2 separate regions of the Homo sapiens genome follow, and region 2 is linked to region 1. Evidence: promoter capture Hi-C in human tissues and cell types (Jung and others, 2019). All regions are on one chromosome and are shown on one strand. The core of a region is centred on a gene start or on the middle of the fragment in contact, and the rest is flanking DNA. Distances in the headings are between cores, read along the strand shown.

Evidence for each region. The method cuts DNA at HindIII sites, captures the fragments that hold promoters and counts their contacts. A contact is called where the count stands out against the background at its distance.
Region 2: a contact is called between the fragment with the promoter of DPM3 here and the fragment with the promoter of JTB in region 1, in 1 of the 25 tissues and cell types used here (aorta).

What each region holds. Positions count from the first base shown.
Region 1 is chr1:153,974,341-153,981,962 of GRCh38, forward strand. JTB (jumping translocation breakpoint) reads right to left here and starts at 3,334. Exons shown (of 5, transcript NM_006694.4): 1 at 2,830-3,334; 2 at 2,636-2,673; 3 at 2,353-2,435; 4 at 1,486-1,565; 5 at 1-495. The coding sequence starts at 2,912. The coding sequence ends at 339. It overlaps JTB-DT (JTB divergent transcript), which reads left to right and starts at 3,403. Exons shown (of 1, transcript NR_186180.1): 1 at 3,403-4,820. CREB3L4 (cAMP responsive element binding protein 3 like 4) reads left to right here. Exons shown (of 10, transcript NM_001255978.2): 10 at 1-19. RAB13 (RAB13, member RAS oncogene family) reads right to left here. Exons shown (of 8, transcript NM_002870.5): 8 at 7,310-7,622. RefSeq lists enhancers at 1,506-2,155, 2,805-3,453, 3,455-3,504 and silencers at 3,175-3,224, 3,513-3,807. The HindIII fragment of the contact is 6,167 bases long and covers 1-5,261 here.
Region 2 is chr1:155,137,186-155,144,807 of GRCh38, forward strand. It overlaps DPM3 (dolichyl-phosphate mannosyltransferase subunit 3, regulatory), which reads right to left and starts at 3,346. Exons shown (of 2, transcript NM_153741.2): 1 at 3,306-3,346; 2 at 2,706-3,060. The coding sequence starts at 3,055. The coding sequence ends at 2,777. It overlaps SLC50A1 (solute carrier family 50 member 1), which reads left to right. Exons shown (of 6, transcript NM_018845.4): 4 at 376-537; 5 at 794-913; 6 at 995-1,668. The coding sequence ends at 1,096. RefSeq lists enhancers at 3,286-3,415, 3,586-3,645. The HindIII fragment of the contact is 27,453 bases long and covers 996-7,622 here.

The DNA.
Region 1 (7,622 bases), core at 2,084-4,583:
ATAAACGTTTTAGCTGAAATTGTATCCCAGAAGTTTGAAATAAGTAGTAGAAGAGGGGGAAAACAAGGGAGAAGTGGTGGGGAAGACTTGGTAGATTGGGGCCTTAAGTAACCACCTCCTTTCCCTCTCTGCCCCCATGACTTCCTGCTCCAAGTTACAGAAGGGAAGGAAACCATTTTACTCTTTTTATTCTGCTCATTAATGATCTGAAAGAAGAAGATGGGGAAAAGGGGATTCCACCACAAGGCTCCAAAGAACCAAGAGTGCAAATCAGTCCATTTCACTTTCACTGTCTGAGATAGGGTCTCTAAGACCCAGGATACAAGGGTGGAATGTAGCTATATGGACTCGATTTGCTTCCGGACCTTTTCCAGAGCCTTTCTGTCCAATTGTCGCTGACGAATGATGACAAGACAAGCGAAGATCAGGGCCACACACACGACAGCCCCTTCGAACTTCCAAAATAAGCGTTGTTCCATCAAAGCTGAGCGGCAGCTGAGGGCAGGAAGGAATAGTTATTCCCAAGGAAGGCCAGACAGCTTCTCCCTCTAATTTCCCTTCTACTTCAGCCTAGCCAGGATACACTCAAGAGGAAATCAGAGCCAGGCTTCTATTGTGTGTATAGTACATAAATCCCTCTCAAATAGATCATTTAATTTATTCTCTGGATAAGCAGAGCTAGTATTAACCAATTTTACTGATGAGAAAATATGGCCAATAACATAGTGCTGAGGAGTAGAGCTGGGACTTGGGTTCAAGTAATTTGGCTCCAAATCCCGTCTTCTTTCTTATTATTTTTGAGATGGTGTCTCGCTCTGTCACCCAGACTGGAGTGCAGTGGCGTGACCTTGGCTCACTGCAACCTCCACCTCCCGGGTTTAAGCAGTTTTCTGCTTCAGCCTCCCAAGTAGCTGGGATTACAGGTGCCCGCCATCATGCCCAGCTAATTTTTGTATCTTTAAGAGAGATGAGGTTTCACCATCTTGGCCAGGCTGGTCTTGAACTCCTAACCTCGTGATCCACCCGCCTCGGCCTCCCAAAGTGCTGGGATTACAGGCGTGAGCCACCCCTCCCAGCCTCTTTTTTTTTTTTTTTTTTTTGACACACAGTCTCGCTCCATTGCCCAGGCTGGAGTGCAGTGGCATGATCTTGGCTCACTCTAACCTCTGCCTCCTGGGTTCAAGTGATTCTCCCTGCCTCAGCCTCCCAAGTAGCTGGGATTATGGGCACCCACCACACCAGCTAATTTTTGTATTTTTAGTAGAGATGGGGTTTCACCACGTTGGCCAGGCTGATCTCGAACTCCTGACCTCAGGTGATCTGTTAGCCTCAGCCTCCCTAAGTACTGGGATTATAGGTGTGAGCCCGGCCCCCTCTTCTTTCAGATATTCCATGCTACCCCCAGACCAGGGGAAAAGGTGGGACCATCCATCTAAAGTCATAGGAGCAAAGGAGGTGATCTCAGAGAAGAGAAACAGCACTCACCTTTTGAACTCATTTCTCTTAGATGAGCTGCATGTGATTTTCTCTACATATCCTGTGGGACCACACTCAGGGGTAGTTTTCTGCCAGGAGAAAAGGAGCAAAGTACATGTTAGGAAGGGGCAACAGGATAAACAAAAAGGCTGCCATTCAGAAGGTGCAGGTGCCCAACTGCTATGGTTTGGAGTGGTAGGCAACAGAGAGCTAATGAAAGAGTTCTGATGCGGATGGTGGAGGTGGTGGTTGCATGATTACGAATGTATGTTAGAACACTTCAGGGGCAACAGTCTAGGAGTGGCAAAGATACATTCCATTCCAGAGCCTACTATACTAAAAGTGAATAAAACATAGTTATTTGAGGCCGGGTGTGGCGGCTCACGCCTATAATCCCAGCACTTTGGGAGGCCGAGGCGGGCAGATCACGAGGTAAGGAGTTAGAGACTAGCCTGGCCAACACAGTGAAACCCGAGTCTACTAAAAATACAAAAATTAGCCAGGCATGGTGCAACGCGCCTTTAGTCACAGCTACTCAGGAGGCTGAGGCAGGAGAATCGCTTGAACCCGGGAGGCGGAGGTTGTGGTGAGCCGAGATCTCGCCACTGCACTCCAGCCTGGGCAACAGAGTGAGACTCCGTCTCAAAAACAAACAAAAAAACCATAGTTATCAGTTGAATACTGCCATTAGCTTGGAAAGAAAGGGGCACATTTTCAGGGGAAAGACAAGTACAGATTTGGACATACACTGAGACTGCAAGAAGAAAGAAAAAAAGATGATGCAAAGGCAGCTTAATAAGACTTGGATGTTAAGATGTTGCTTAAGTGTTTGCTTAGATGTTTAAAAAAAAAAAGGGTAGAGAAATAGATACTCACAGCCCGGAAATTAGAGCATGGAGAGCACTCTTCTGCTACCACAAACTCTTCCACCAGCCAGCATGGCAAATTTGAGGTGCTTGCTGAAAGGAAAGATAAATGCCAGCCCCAGGCCATTCAGAAAACATTTCTCCCAGGCTCTGCCCATCCAACTTCCCGGCACAGCGCTTGCCCTCATTCCATGTGGTGCCGGCCTTTTCCACCTGTGCTCTTGGTATATGGGGAAGATACTAAAACCAAAAACAAACGACGGGACGTGTCGGGTTCCCAGACAATCACCCACCTGACAGCTTCTCTTCCTGCACGGGAGCCTCTGCTTGGCTGTAGCGGAGTTGGGGGAAGGGACAAAAGTCAAAACCCAGAAAATAGGGCACCCCCTCCTGCGCTGTCCATGGATAAGATCTCCCCCAGCCCCGAGGCCGGGAACGATCCTGTCCTCCAGTGACCTCCTTTTCCCTCCCCTTACCTCCTCCTTACCAGAGCTTTAAGGTGAAAGCACAGAGCAACCAGCAGAGGTGGCGGCCCTGGGGGAGGCCAGGCCTCCCGGCACCCGCAAGCATGGAGCGCCAAGTGTCGCACCTGTCGGAACAGAGGGACCTACTCCACAGGCCTCGTGCCTCCGTCGGAGCGCAGAGGCGGCACTTACTCTGCAGCCCTCCCAGAGGTTCCAGGTCAGGGCAGGGAAGGCCGGAGTTGCCTATTGGAGCAGAGGATCTATCAGGACGTCCCCGTTGCCACAGCGAGAAAAATCGATATGTTTTTGCGGGCTAGGGAGGCGAGCGCCTTCTGCGGGGTCCGCAGGGCGCTGGAGGAAGGGCCGGCGGGGGCTCGCGGCCCTAGCGCCCGCTCACCTCCGCTCCCGCCCCCGACGCAGCCATCTAGCCCCGTGGAGGATCCTCGGGCGCGGGACCGAGCTCGGGGCCCGGTGTTCCCGGGGGCGTTCGGTCGTCGCCCGCTGGGGCTTATAGTCTTCCGCGTCGGTGGCGCCTCGCCTGCTGCTCACTGGGAATTAGCTCGGCGCCCCGTTGCATTGTGGTCTTGGTAGTCTTTGCGAGAACGGCAAATGGCGGTTGCAGAGGCTCGTCCGAATTCTCGGCTCGCTGCTCCCTGGCTGGCGCGTGTTTGTTCATTCTGGGCTAGGTGAGCAGGGACAATACGTCGCCCTCTCAGGACTTTGCTCTCTCCTTAAAACCCGAGGATTCACCGTCAAGCTTCTGGTTTCTCTGACATCCTTCCCCAGCCGCCCCTTCATCGCCACCGATGATCCAGTGGAGAAGCTGTGTTGGAGGTCAAGGGATGGAGGCGAAACTGCGCGTTCTCGTCCCTGCAGAAACCGGAATATCCGAGACACATGACGAACATGAAACTTTCTCCTTGTCTCTTGGCTCCCACTCCGCTACACAGATGAACGGTGTTACCTTCCCTCATGTTACTTTGCTAAGCCTACTCCTCAGAGCTGGTCCTTTGCATAACCTCTTCAAATGCTCTCAACTCTCCCTTGCTCCTACATAATGGAGTAATCATAAGTGCAATGAGAAAAGCATGAGATTTGAAGTTCCATAAGTATTGAGTCTAGGTTCTGGTGGTTATTAACTCCATGATCTTAGGAAAGTATCTGTCAGTGTTCTGTGTAAAACGGAAATGCTAATGTGTATTTACCAGGACTTTTTCTTGCGAGAGGCAGATGAAATGTATCTCCGTTTCATGAGTAAGTTCAGAGAATATAAGTGACTTGTCCAAGGTCAGCAAGCTAATGAGTGGGAAAGCTGAGGCTTGAGCCTAGACTGTCAACACCCAGGCCAAAGATTCATTGCCTGCTTTTCATCTTATGGAGTTAAACCTTGATACACACTCAGATCTGCAGTGACTTGACCAGCACTGTGGGTTCATGCTTTACTGTCTGATAACGAATTTTCATTTAATTTTATTTTTTTTCTTAGACAGGGTCTAGCTCTGTCACCTAAACCTGATGAGGGCTGAGCCTTCATTTCGCCGTTTTTTGTTTGTTTGTTTTTGTTTTTGAACGAGATGGACTCTGGCTATGTTGCCAGACTGGAGTGCAGTGGCAAGTCACAGGAGCCATCATAGCGCATTACAGCCTGGAACTTCTCGTCTTCAGGGATCCTCCCAAGTAGCTGGGATTTCAGGCATGTGCCACCATACCTGGCTCTAATTTTGAATTTGTTTCTTTAAATTATTATTTGTGTTTGCTGAAATTGTGTGTGTATTATTTTTGTGTATGTGTGTGAGTAGTTATATGTTACATAAAGTAGGTTGTGGGGTTTTTTCCAGTAATGTTTAGCTATAATTGAAGTTTGGGCCGAAATCTGCTAGTATTTGTTACTCCTCACCAAATCCTACCTTATCTCACAACAAACTGTAAGATCTTGTGATATTTCACTTCCAATAACCTTACCAGGCATCAGAGTGGGGTCTCTACTCTGAAATTAAATATCTGCCATAAGGTATGTTGAAGACGTTAGTCTCTTTCCCAGGAGGCACAAAGTGCAAGTCTTTTCCTCATCGCTTGAGCAAATTAAACCTACCGGACAGTTTACTACAGAACTCAAACACAGCTGGGCGCAGTGGCTCACGCCTGTAATCCCAGCAATTTGGGAGGCCGAGGTGGGCGGATCACCTGAGGTCGGGAGTTCAAGACCAGCCTGACCAACATGGAGAAACCCCGTCTCCACTAAAAATACAGAATTAGCTGGGCATGGTGCCATATGCCTGTAATCCCAGGTACTCGTGAGGCTGAGGCAGGAGAATCACTTGAACCCGGGAGGTAGAGGTTGCGGTGAGCCGAGATCACACCATTGTACTCCAGCCTGGGCAACAAGAGCAAGAATTCATCTCAAAAGAAAAAAAAAAGAACTTAAGCATAAGCCACAAATAAGGTTTATCATTACCTCATCAATGCTTGGATACTTACATTTATCAAGTTATTACATTTTGCTGTGTAAAAAATATTATGTATGGTGAAAGGGGGATATATATATATTATGTATTAAAATATGTATTATATATTATATATTAAACATAATATAATTATATATAATTATATATTAAACATAATATATTATATATTAAATATATAATTATAATATATATTTAATATATATGTATAATATATAATTATATATTATATATAATATGTTATATGTTTATAAACATATACATGTTATATATATTATATATTTCCTATATATTTAATATATAATATATATAATTATACATTGTAATATATAATATAATATAATATATATATACTTAAGGATGCTGTGCATCAAGCCTGAATTTTTTTTTTTTTTTTGAGATGGAGTTTCGCTCTGTCTCCAGGCTGGAGTGTAATGGTGCGAACTCTGCTCACAGTAACCTCTGCCTCCTAGGTTCAAGCGATTCTCCTCCCTCAGCCTCCCAAGTAGCTGGTATTACAGGCACCCACCACCATGCCCAGCTAATTTTTTTTGTATTTTTAGTAGAGATGGGGTTTCGCCATGTTGGCCAGGCTGGTCTCAAACTCCCAACCTGAAGTGATCCACCCACCTCGGCCTCCCAAAGTGCTGGGACTACAGGCATGAAACAACGTGCTCGGCCCAAGCCTGAATTTTCTTTTGCATTTCCAGTAGTTTTGCCATCTTTGTTATTCAGCAAAGAGATGTTTTTGTTTTCGTTTTTGTTTTTTTGAGACAGAGTCTGGCTGTGTCACCCAGGCTGGAGTGCAGTGGTGTGATCTCAACTCACTGCAACCTCTGCCTCCCAGGTTCAAGTGAGTCTCCTGCCTCAGCCTCCCAAGTAGCTGGGACTACAGGCGCCCTCCACCACTCCTGTCTAATTTTTTTTTTTTTTTGTATTTTTAGTAGAGACGGGGTTTCACTATGCTGGCCAGGCTGGTCTTGAACTCCTGTTGTGATCCACCACGCCCAGCCAAAGAGCTGTTTTTGTTAAAGTTTGCTTGTCCCAGGCTGGGCGCAGTGGCTCACGCCTGTAACCCCAGCACTTTGGGAGACTGAGGCAGACTGATCACTCGAGCCCAGGCGTTCAAGACCAGCCTGGCCAACATGACAAAACCCTGTCTCCACTAAAAACACAAAAGTTAGCCAGGTGTGGTGGCACGTGCCTGTAATCCCAGCTACTCGGGAGGCTGAGGCAGGAGAATCGCTTGAACCCGGGAGGCAGAGGTTGCAGTGAGCTGGGATCGTGCCACTGCACTCCAGTCTGGGCGACAGAGCCACACTCGGTCTTAAAAAAGAAAAAAAGTCCTTGTCCCTCTGCTTGTAAGTACCACCAAAGGGCTATATTAACTGACTATTGGCCAGGCATGGTGGCTCACGCCTGTAATCCCAGCTACTTGAGAGGCTGAGGCAGGAGGCAGAGGTTGCAGTGAGCTGAGATCGCACTATTGCACTCCAGCCTCGGAGACAGAGCAAGACTCTGTCCCTAAAAATAAATGAATAAATAAATAAAATAACTGACCATTGTGCCTGGCACTTAGTAGATGCTCAATATACATATATGAATAAATGAACTTCTCATTTTCCTCACTAATAAAAGCAGATATTAATGCCTATCAAATAACTAAATGGATTGCTGGCAGAATCAAAGAAGCTTGCACAAATCACTGGATAAATCACTAGGTGCAGTTATTTCCCTGAGGCTAGGACTGTTAGAGTTCTTCTCGCTGGGAATTTCCTGTGCTCAGGACAAGGCTCTGCCCACAAGGGCATCCGGACCCCATGGCGGAAAGAGGATATCCAGACCTTCAGATCACTCTACCTCCTGCTCTTTGCTATTTTCCTTACCAACAGAACAGCTAGGGAAGAGACAGCAGTAGGATTAGTCCTGGTTCCACAGAAACCGAGCCTGATTTGGGTAAATCAATCACTTTGAAGACACAATAATTGGATTTGAGTGGAGAACAATTCTGACAATAATCCAAGTTACCCAAAACAGGAACATTTGTGCAAATGGTGGCCTTTAATACCAAGAAAGACCATGACAAGTGACAGAACAGGAGCAAATTCCCTAGTGTAGTGCCGAGCTAGCCTTTTGCAGGACCCTAAAACCTGATCTAGTAACAGAATAAATCAGTGTATTTACATTTATGTTTGCCCTGAAAACCCAGGTAAGGTCTGAAGCCTGAGGCATCTCTCCTTCCTTTCCTCCTCCCTCTCTTCCTACCTCCTTGCCTTCTTTCACTTCCTCAATTCATTCCTCTCCCTTCTCCCTTCCTCTCTCTTCCTTTTTTTCCTTTCTGCTTTTCCCTTTTC
Region 2 (7,622 bases), core at 2,096-4,595, 1.2 Mb after region 1:
TGGGCTTCAGCCAACAAGCTAAGGGGAAAGGGCTTTTGTCTCTGATATTTCTTTCAGAGCCAGGGCCTGTGGGTGAGAATGAGATGATTAGCTCTGCGTCCCTGCTAAATCACACAAGCATTTATGAAGCTCCTACTGTGTGTGCCAAGCACACAGAAAAAAACACATATTTATCTCCCCCAGAAGTCTCCAGTGTTGTGGGTGGATAAGACTTTCCTATCAAGTTGGTGGTGGGAAAGAAGCTGTGACAGTGCAGTGCTGGAGGCCTAGACAGCTTGGCTTCCCCATTGGAGCACTGGAGAAGGCAGGATGAATTAACTCTAGCAGGGAAGTCAGAGTGCACATCTGGAAGTAAGGGTACTCTCTCCCCTGCAGCGTGTTGTGCTCCTACAGACTGCAACCCTGCTAGGGGTCCTTCTCCTGGGTTATGGCTACTTTTGGCTCCTGGTACCCAACCCTGAGGCCCGGCTTCAGCAGTTGGGCCTCTTCTGCAGTGTCTTCACCATCAGCATGTACCTCTCACCACTGGCTGACTTGGTGAGTGGGGGTGTCCAAGGAGGTAGGAGAGATAAGAGTCAGGCTCTCATAGCCAAATACTATGGCTTACAGTCCCGAGGAAGGGGAGATCCAAACCCTGGAAGAAGACAAGGCAGTAGAAGTGGGCGAGTGGGAGGCAGGAAAGGTTGGGTGACAGATCAGGGAGGGTGTCTGACCTTTTTCTTGAGGAAATTCTTAGGCAAGTGAAGCTTTACGATGTGCTTGGGCCAAGAGAGTCTTCCATTCTTTCCCACAGGCTAAGGTGATTCAAACTAAATCAACCCAATGTCTCTCCTACCCACTCACCATTGCTACCCTTCTCACCTCTGCCTCCTGGTGCCTCTATGGGTTTCGACTCAGAGATCCCTATATCATGGTAAGCACAACTGGGATGGGGTGACAGGGGTGCAAGATGGAAAACTGGCTCCTCTCCTCATAGCAGTTCTTGTGATTTCAGGTGTCCAACTTTCCAGGAATCGTCACCAGCTTTATCCGCTTCTGGCTTTTCTGGAAGTACCCCCAGGAGCAAGACAGGAACTACTGGCTCCTGCAAACCTGAGGCTGCTCATCTGACCACTGGGCACCTTAGTGCCAACCTGAACCAAAGAGACCTCCTTGTTTCAGCTGGGCCTGCTGTCCAGCTTCCCAGGTGCAGTGGGTTGTGGGAACAAGAGATGACTTTGAGGATAAAAGGACCAAAGAAAAAGCTTTACTTAGATGATTGATTGGGGCCTAGGAGATGAAATCACTTTTTATTTTTTAGAGATTTTTTTTTTTAATTTTGGAGGTTGGGGTGCAATCTTTAGAATATGCCTTAAAAGGCCGGGCGCGGTGGCTCACGCCTGTAATCCCAGCACTTTGGGAGGCCAAGGTGGGCGGATCGCCTGAGGTCAGGAGTTCAAGACCAACCTGACTAACATGGTGAAACCCCATCTCTACTAAAAATACAAAATTAGCCAGGCATGATGGCACATGCCTGTAATCCCAGATACTTGGGAGGCTGAGGCAGGAGAATTGCTTGAACCCAGGAGGTGGAGGTTGCAGTGAGCTGAGATCGTGCCATTGTGATATGAATATGCCTTATATGCTGATATGAATATGCCTTAAAATAAAGTGTTCCCCACCCCTGCCCACGATGGTTCATTCTCTACTCATAATTCTAAACCTGCCTGGTTTGGTGAAGGATAGATCCACAGTTATTCTCAGGTTGGTAGGGTAGGCTCAGAAAAGGTATCTCAAAGAACCAAAAGGTTGGAAAGACCCAGGAAGGCCTTAAAAATAACAAAACTTGGATGTTATGAAGAATGGAACTTAGGCTTCAAGAAAGTACTTCTGGCCGGGTAAGGTGGCTTATGTCTGTAATCACAGCACTTTGGGAGGCCCAGGCAGGAGGATCACTTGAGCCCAGGAGTTTGAGAACAGCCTGAGCAACACAGCGAGACCCTGTCACTACAAAAAATTAAACATTAGCCTGGTGGCGTGGTGGCATATGCCTGTAGTCCCAGCTACTCTGGAGGCTGAGGTGGGAGAACTGTTTGAGCCTGGGAGGGTGAGGCTGCAGTGAGCCATGATTGCACCACTGCACTCCAGCCTGGGCAACAGAGTGAGACCCTGTCTCAAAAAAAAAAAAAAAAAGAAGTAGTACGCCGGGCGCGGTGACTCACACCTGTAATCCCAGCACTTTGGGAGGCCGAGGCGGGCGGATTACGAGGTCAGGAGATCAGACCATCCTGGCCAACACGGTGAAACCCCGACTCTACTAAAAATACAAAAAATTAGCCAGGCGTGGTGGCAGGCGCCTGTAGTCCCAGCTACTCAGGAGGCTGAGGCAGGAGAATGGCGTGAACCCGGGAGGCGGAGCTTGCAGTGAGCCGAGATCACGCCACTGCACTCCAGCCTGGACGACAGAGCAAGGCTCCGTCTCAAAAAAAAAAAAAAAGAAGTACTTCCTACAGGGTTGAAAGGACCAGGAAAGTGAAATGTCATTTCCATCCTGAGAAATATTGAGAAGGGGTCTTTGCCTCCTTGGGAGCAAAAATGGGAACACCAGCAAGATGCAAAGATAAAGGCTGAGATGGCCTCAAGAAGGTGGTTCTTTCACATTCACTTCTCGACCGTTAGTACATAGAATCCCCAATACCCGTTTTCCATACTCAAACTAAACGAAGTTAGAAAATAAACTGGCTCTTTAATGGGAAATGGGAGGAAGGGCTGTCCGCACAGGAATGGGGTTAGGCTGTCAGAAGCGCAGCCCCCTGCGGGCTAAGTCGGCTCGGGCCTCCTGTATCTGGCTCTGCAGCTCGCGTGCGGCGTCCTCGCAGTCATGAAAAGTGGCCACACGATAGCCCACAGTGCCCAGGGCATAGCAGCCGGCGGACACCAGCAAGTAGGCGGGCAGTGGCCACAGGACTTCCTGGCAGGACAAGGGCAGCTCCAGGCCCAAGGCTCCCGTGGTCAGGGCCACCCAGGTGGAGCCCAGGATCGCTAGTCCCCAAAGCCACTGCGCTAATTTCGTCATGGTCACTGCGAGAGAAGGAAGCAATGCTCCCCTGAGGAGCAGAAAGGAAAAGCGGACCAAACTCAACCGAAGCCCGCCCACGGAGAGCATTAAAACCAGCCCTGGCCAGAGGGGAATCGCCGATCCCAGAGGTCCGAACTTGAGTGCCCACAAAAGGTGGAAGGGCCCCTTCCACCTTGCTACCCCCTCTATATTTGAGACCCACTCCCCATCTCTCGCCCTCCCCATTCAGCCTTCAACCTACACTTACCTCTACCCCACGTCTCCCCTTCCCCGCGCGGCCCGGATGTTGGCGTCCGGAAGTCCTCCCTGGTTCACGTTCCGCTTCCGCGCGGCCTTCTGGGAGTTGTAGTTCACATGGCGGCGCCTGGTGTACTCCTGGCCAGCGCCTCAATCTAGGCGGGGGTACAGTGGGCTGTGCTCCGCAAACGGGGAGCAGGCCGGGTCTGGAGAGGCCTCGGCGCTGCTTTCCCACCTTGGGCTACGCTCCAGGCTGGCGTGGGGCTTGAGGACATCCTTAAATGTTGCAACAAGATGGGAATATAATACCATTCCCCTTAAACTCAATTCTCCAGCGCTGAAATCCATTCCTTCATTCACTAGTTCATTCATTCGAAGATTTCTTTCTTTCCATTCTTGACAGGGTCTCTCTATAGTGCCTAGGCGGGACAGAACTCCTTTTTTTTTTTTTTTTTTTTTTTTTTTTTTTTGAGACAAAGTCTCGCTCTGTTGCCCATGCTGGAGTACAGTGGCTCGATCTCAGCTCACTGCAACCTCTGTCTCCCGAGCAGCTGGGATTACAGGCGCGCGCCACCACGCCGGGCTAATTTTTTTATTTTTAGCAGAGAACGGGGATTTCACTATGTTGGCCAGGCTGGTCTCAAACTCCTGACCTCAAGTGACTGGCCCACCTCAGCCTTCCAAAGTGCTAGGATTACAGGCATGAGCCACAGCGCCCGGCCAGAACATTTCTTGATTACCATGATAGACTTTGGAGATACAGAGATGTCAAGAGACTCGACCCCTTTCAGGTGGAGGGGGAAAGCAGGAGTCAGTGAAGCAGTTGCATTGACAACTAACCATGAAGGCTTGAGATTATTGTTAGAACAGAGGTAGTCATATTTTTACAAGGACAACAACCAATATAACTTGGAGCCAGAGGAAGAAGGGCTCCAGGAGTCTGGGTTTCAAAAAAAAAGAAAAGAAAAGAAAGACCAGAAGAATTACCTGAAGTGGTGAAGGCATTGAAAGAAAGAGTATAATTCTTTAGAACAGTTTTGGGGATGAATTTATTATGTATAGAGAGAAAGAGAGAGAGAGAACAAAGTAAGAGAAAAGGTTAGGCAATTATCAACTTCAGAGGAAACAAAGAGTTATATAAGAAAGGAAAGACAATTGATAAGCCTGTCTTATAAAGACCACATCTGTAGTTTGACAGTTAGGTTTATTAACTTGCCACAACAGAGAGATCACACACTAGAAGAACTGTGGGGCAACTCATTAAAAAGGAAGAAATATGGTCATTCAGATGATATGGTTTGGCTGTGTCCCCACCCAAATTTCAAGTTGATGTGTATCTCCCAGAATTCCCACGTGCGAGGGACCTAAGGGGAGGTAATTGAATCACGGGGGCCAGACTTTCCCGTGCTATTTTCATGATAGTGAATAAGTCTCACAAGATCTGATGAGTTCATCAGGGGTTTCTGCTTTTGCTTCTTCCTCATTTTTCTCTTGCCACCGCCATGTAAGAAGTGCCTTTGTCTCCCGCCATGATTCTGAGGCCTCCCCAGCAATGTGGAACTGTAAGTCCAATTAAACCTCTTTTTGTTTGCAGTTTCGGGTATGTCTTTATCAGTAATGTGAAAATGAACTAATACAACAGGATATGGGAAAGGCTTGACTTTAAAATTTATATTTTAAAATTTATTTACTTATTTATTTAGAGTTGAAGTCTCGGTATGTTGCCCAGGCGAAGCTCAAACTTCTGGGCTCAAGTGATCCTCCTGCCTCAGCCTCCCAAGTGGCTGATACTATAGGCTAGCTAAAATTTAAATGAAACAGTGTTTTGATCGGTTCGAGGTAAGCATAACTTTAAGTGAAGGGATCAAGAAGTCCAAGCTGAGGGACCACTTGGAAATTACAAAGTCAAGATAAATATAGAATATAGTGTCCAAAAACCCACTATCTAGGCTGGGCACAGTGGCTCGTGCCTGTAATCCCAACACTTTGGGAGGCCAAAGTAATCCACGTGGCTCAGAACTTCTGGCAAGAGTAGGATGTTCCATTCGCACTGACTGATTTCAAATAGCAAAGTTTGTGACTATGATTTTAGAAAATGAAGTTTCTCAGCCGTATGTCCTGGATGTTAATTAACAAAAGCAGTTTTTACAGATTCACAGTCTTAGCACAAACACAAATGGCTCAGCTGTGAAGAAAATTTTCACAGCCGTAACGATGTAAACACTAAGTATTGATTTAACTAAAAATTGGAGCTGGGGACAGTGGAGCTGTGATCCCAGAACTTTGGGAGGCCTAGGTGGGAGTGTTGCTTGAAGAAATGTACAGATAAGTACCAGAAGAAGCAGCCTAGAAACTGGAGCGTAGTTGTATATGTAGGTTGTATATGTAAGGGTTAAAGAAGAGGAGCAGGGGATGGTTATTTTTCATTAAAAGCCTTGTAGAGTTACAGCTCTTTTTTTTTCTATTCTTTTTCTTTTTTTCAGACAAGGTCTTGCTCTGTTGCCCAGGGTGGAGAGCAGCGGTGCAAACATGGCTTACTGCAGCCTCGACCTCCTGGACTCAAGCTATCCTCCCACCTCAGACTCTGGAGTAGCAGGGACTACAGAAGTGGGCCACCACCACCACGCCCATCTAGTGTGTGTGTGTGTGTGTGTGTGTGTGTGTGTGTGTGTGTGTGTGTAGACGGGGTCTCCCTATGTTGCCCAGGCTGGTCTCAAAATCCTGGGCTCAAGCAATTCATCTCAGCCCCCACAAAGTGCTGCTATTGCAGTCGTAAGCCACGGCGCCCACCGAAGTTACAGCTTTCAGAATTTGTTGAGCAGGTTTCCCGGTTTTCACTTGAAAATGCCCCGCCACCCCGAAAAATATTTGTTGAACTAGTTGGCTTTTAAAACTATACAAATTCCTTTGTTAAAGTAAAAATTAAAACAAATAAAAACTTTTCTTTTTTTTTTTGAGACAGAGTCTCGTTCTGTGGCCCAGGCTAGAGTACAGTGGCATGATCTCAGCTCACTGCAACCTCTGCCTCCCATGTTCAAGCGATTAGCCTGCCTCAACATCCCAAGTAGCTGGGACTACAGGCACGCACCACCACACCCAGCAAATCTTTGTATTTTTATTAAAGACAGGGTTTCACCATGTTGGTCAGGCTGGTCTCGAACTCCTGAGCTTGTGATCCTCCCACCTCGGACTCCCAAAGTGCTGGGATTACAGGCGTGAGCCACCGCGCTCAGCCCAAACTTTTTTTTTTTTTTTTTTTGAGCCGGAGTTTTGCTCTTGTCGCCGAGGTTGGGGTGAAATGACACGGTCTTGGCTCACTGCAACCTCCGCCTCCCGGGTTCAAGCAATTCTCCTGCCTCAGCCTCCCGAGTAGCTGGGATTACAGGCACCTGCCACCATGCCTGGCTAATTTTTGTATTTTTAGTAGAGTTGGGGTTTCACCTTGTTGGCCGGGCTGGTCTCAAACTCCAGACCTCAGGTGATTCGCCCCCTCGGCCTCCCAAAGTGCTGGGATTACAGGCGTGAGCCACCGCTCCTAGCGAAAAACATTTTTTAGGCTGGGTGCGGTGGCTCACGCCTGTAATCCCAGCACTTTGGGAGGTGGAGACGGGTGGATCACGAGGTCAGGAGATCGAGATCATCCTGGCTAACACGGTGAAACCCCGTCTCCACTAAAAATACAAAAAAAAAAAAAAAATTAGCCGGGCGTGGTGGCGGGTGCCTGTAGTCCCAGCTACTTGGGAGGCTGAGGCAGGAGAATGGCATGAACCCGGGAGGCGGAGGTTGCAGTGAGCCGAGACTGTGCCACTGCACTCCAGCCTGGGTGACAGAGCGAGACTCTGTCTCAAAAAAAAAAAAATGTTTTTAAACCTGCTATACGACCTTCAAAGCCCTAGCCACATTTCCATTTCCACACCAAATCTTTCTGGTTTCTCAATCAAGGACTCACTGGTCACAATGACTTTCAAATATTGGTATACTTACAGGGGCTGGACACGAGCATTGCAGATGCAGATCCAGAAAGTCCATTTTATTCATACACAGTAGACTTGGCCCTGAAACTCCCCAGAACATTTTAGGGGCTTACACCACCACATATAAGGATAGATAATAAATTATAAAGTATTTCTGTTTTTTGGGTTTTGTTTTTTTTTTTGAGACAGAGCCTTGCTCTGTCGCCCAGGCTGGAGTGCAGTGGTACAATCTCAGCTCGCTGCAACCTCTGCCTCCCGGGTTCAAGCGATTCTCCTGCCTCAGTTTCCCGAGTAGCTGGGATTATAGGCACCTGCCACCATGCTCAGCTAATTTTTGTATTTTTAATAGAGAT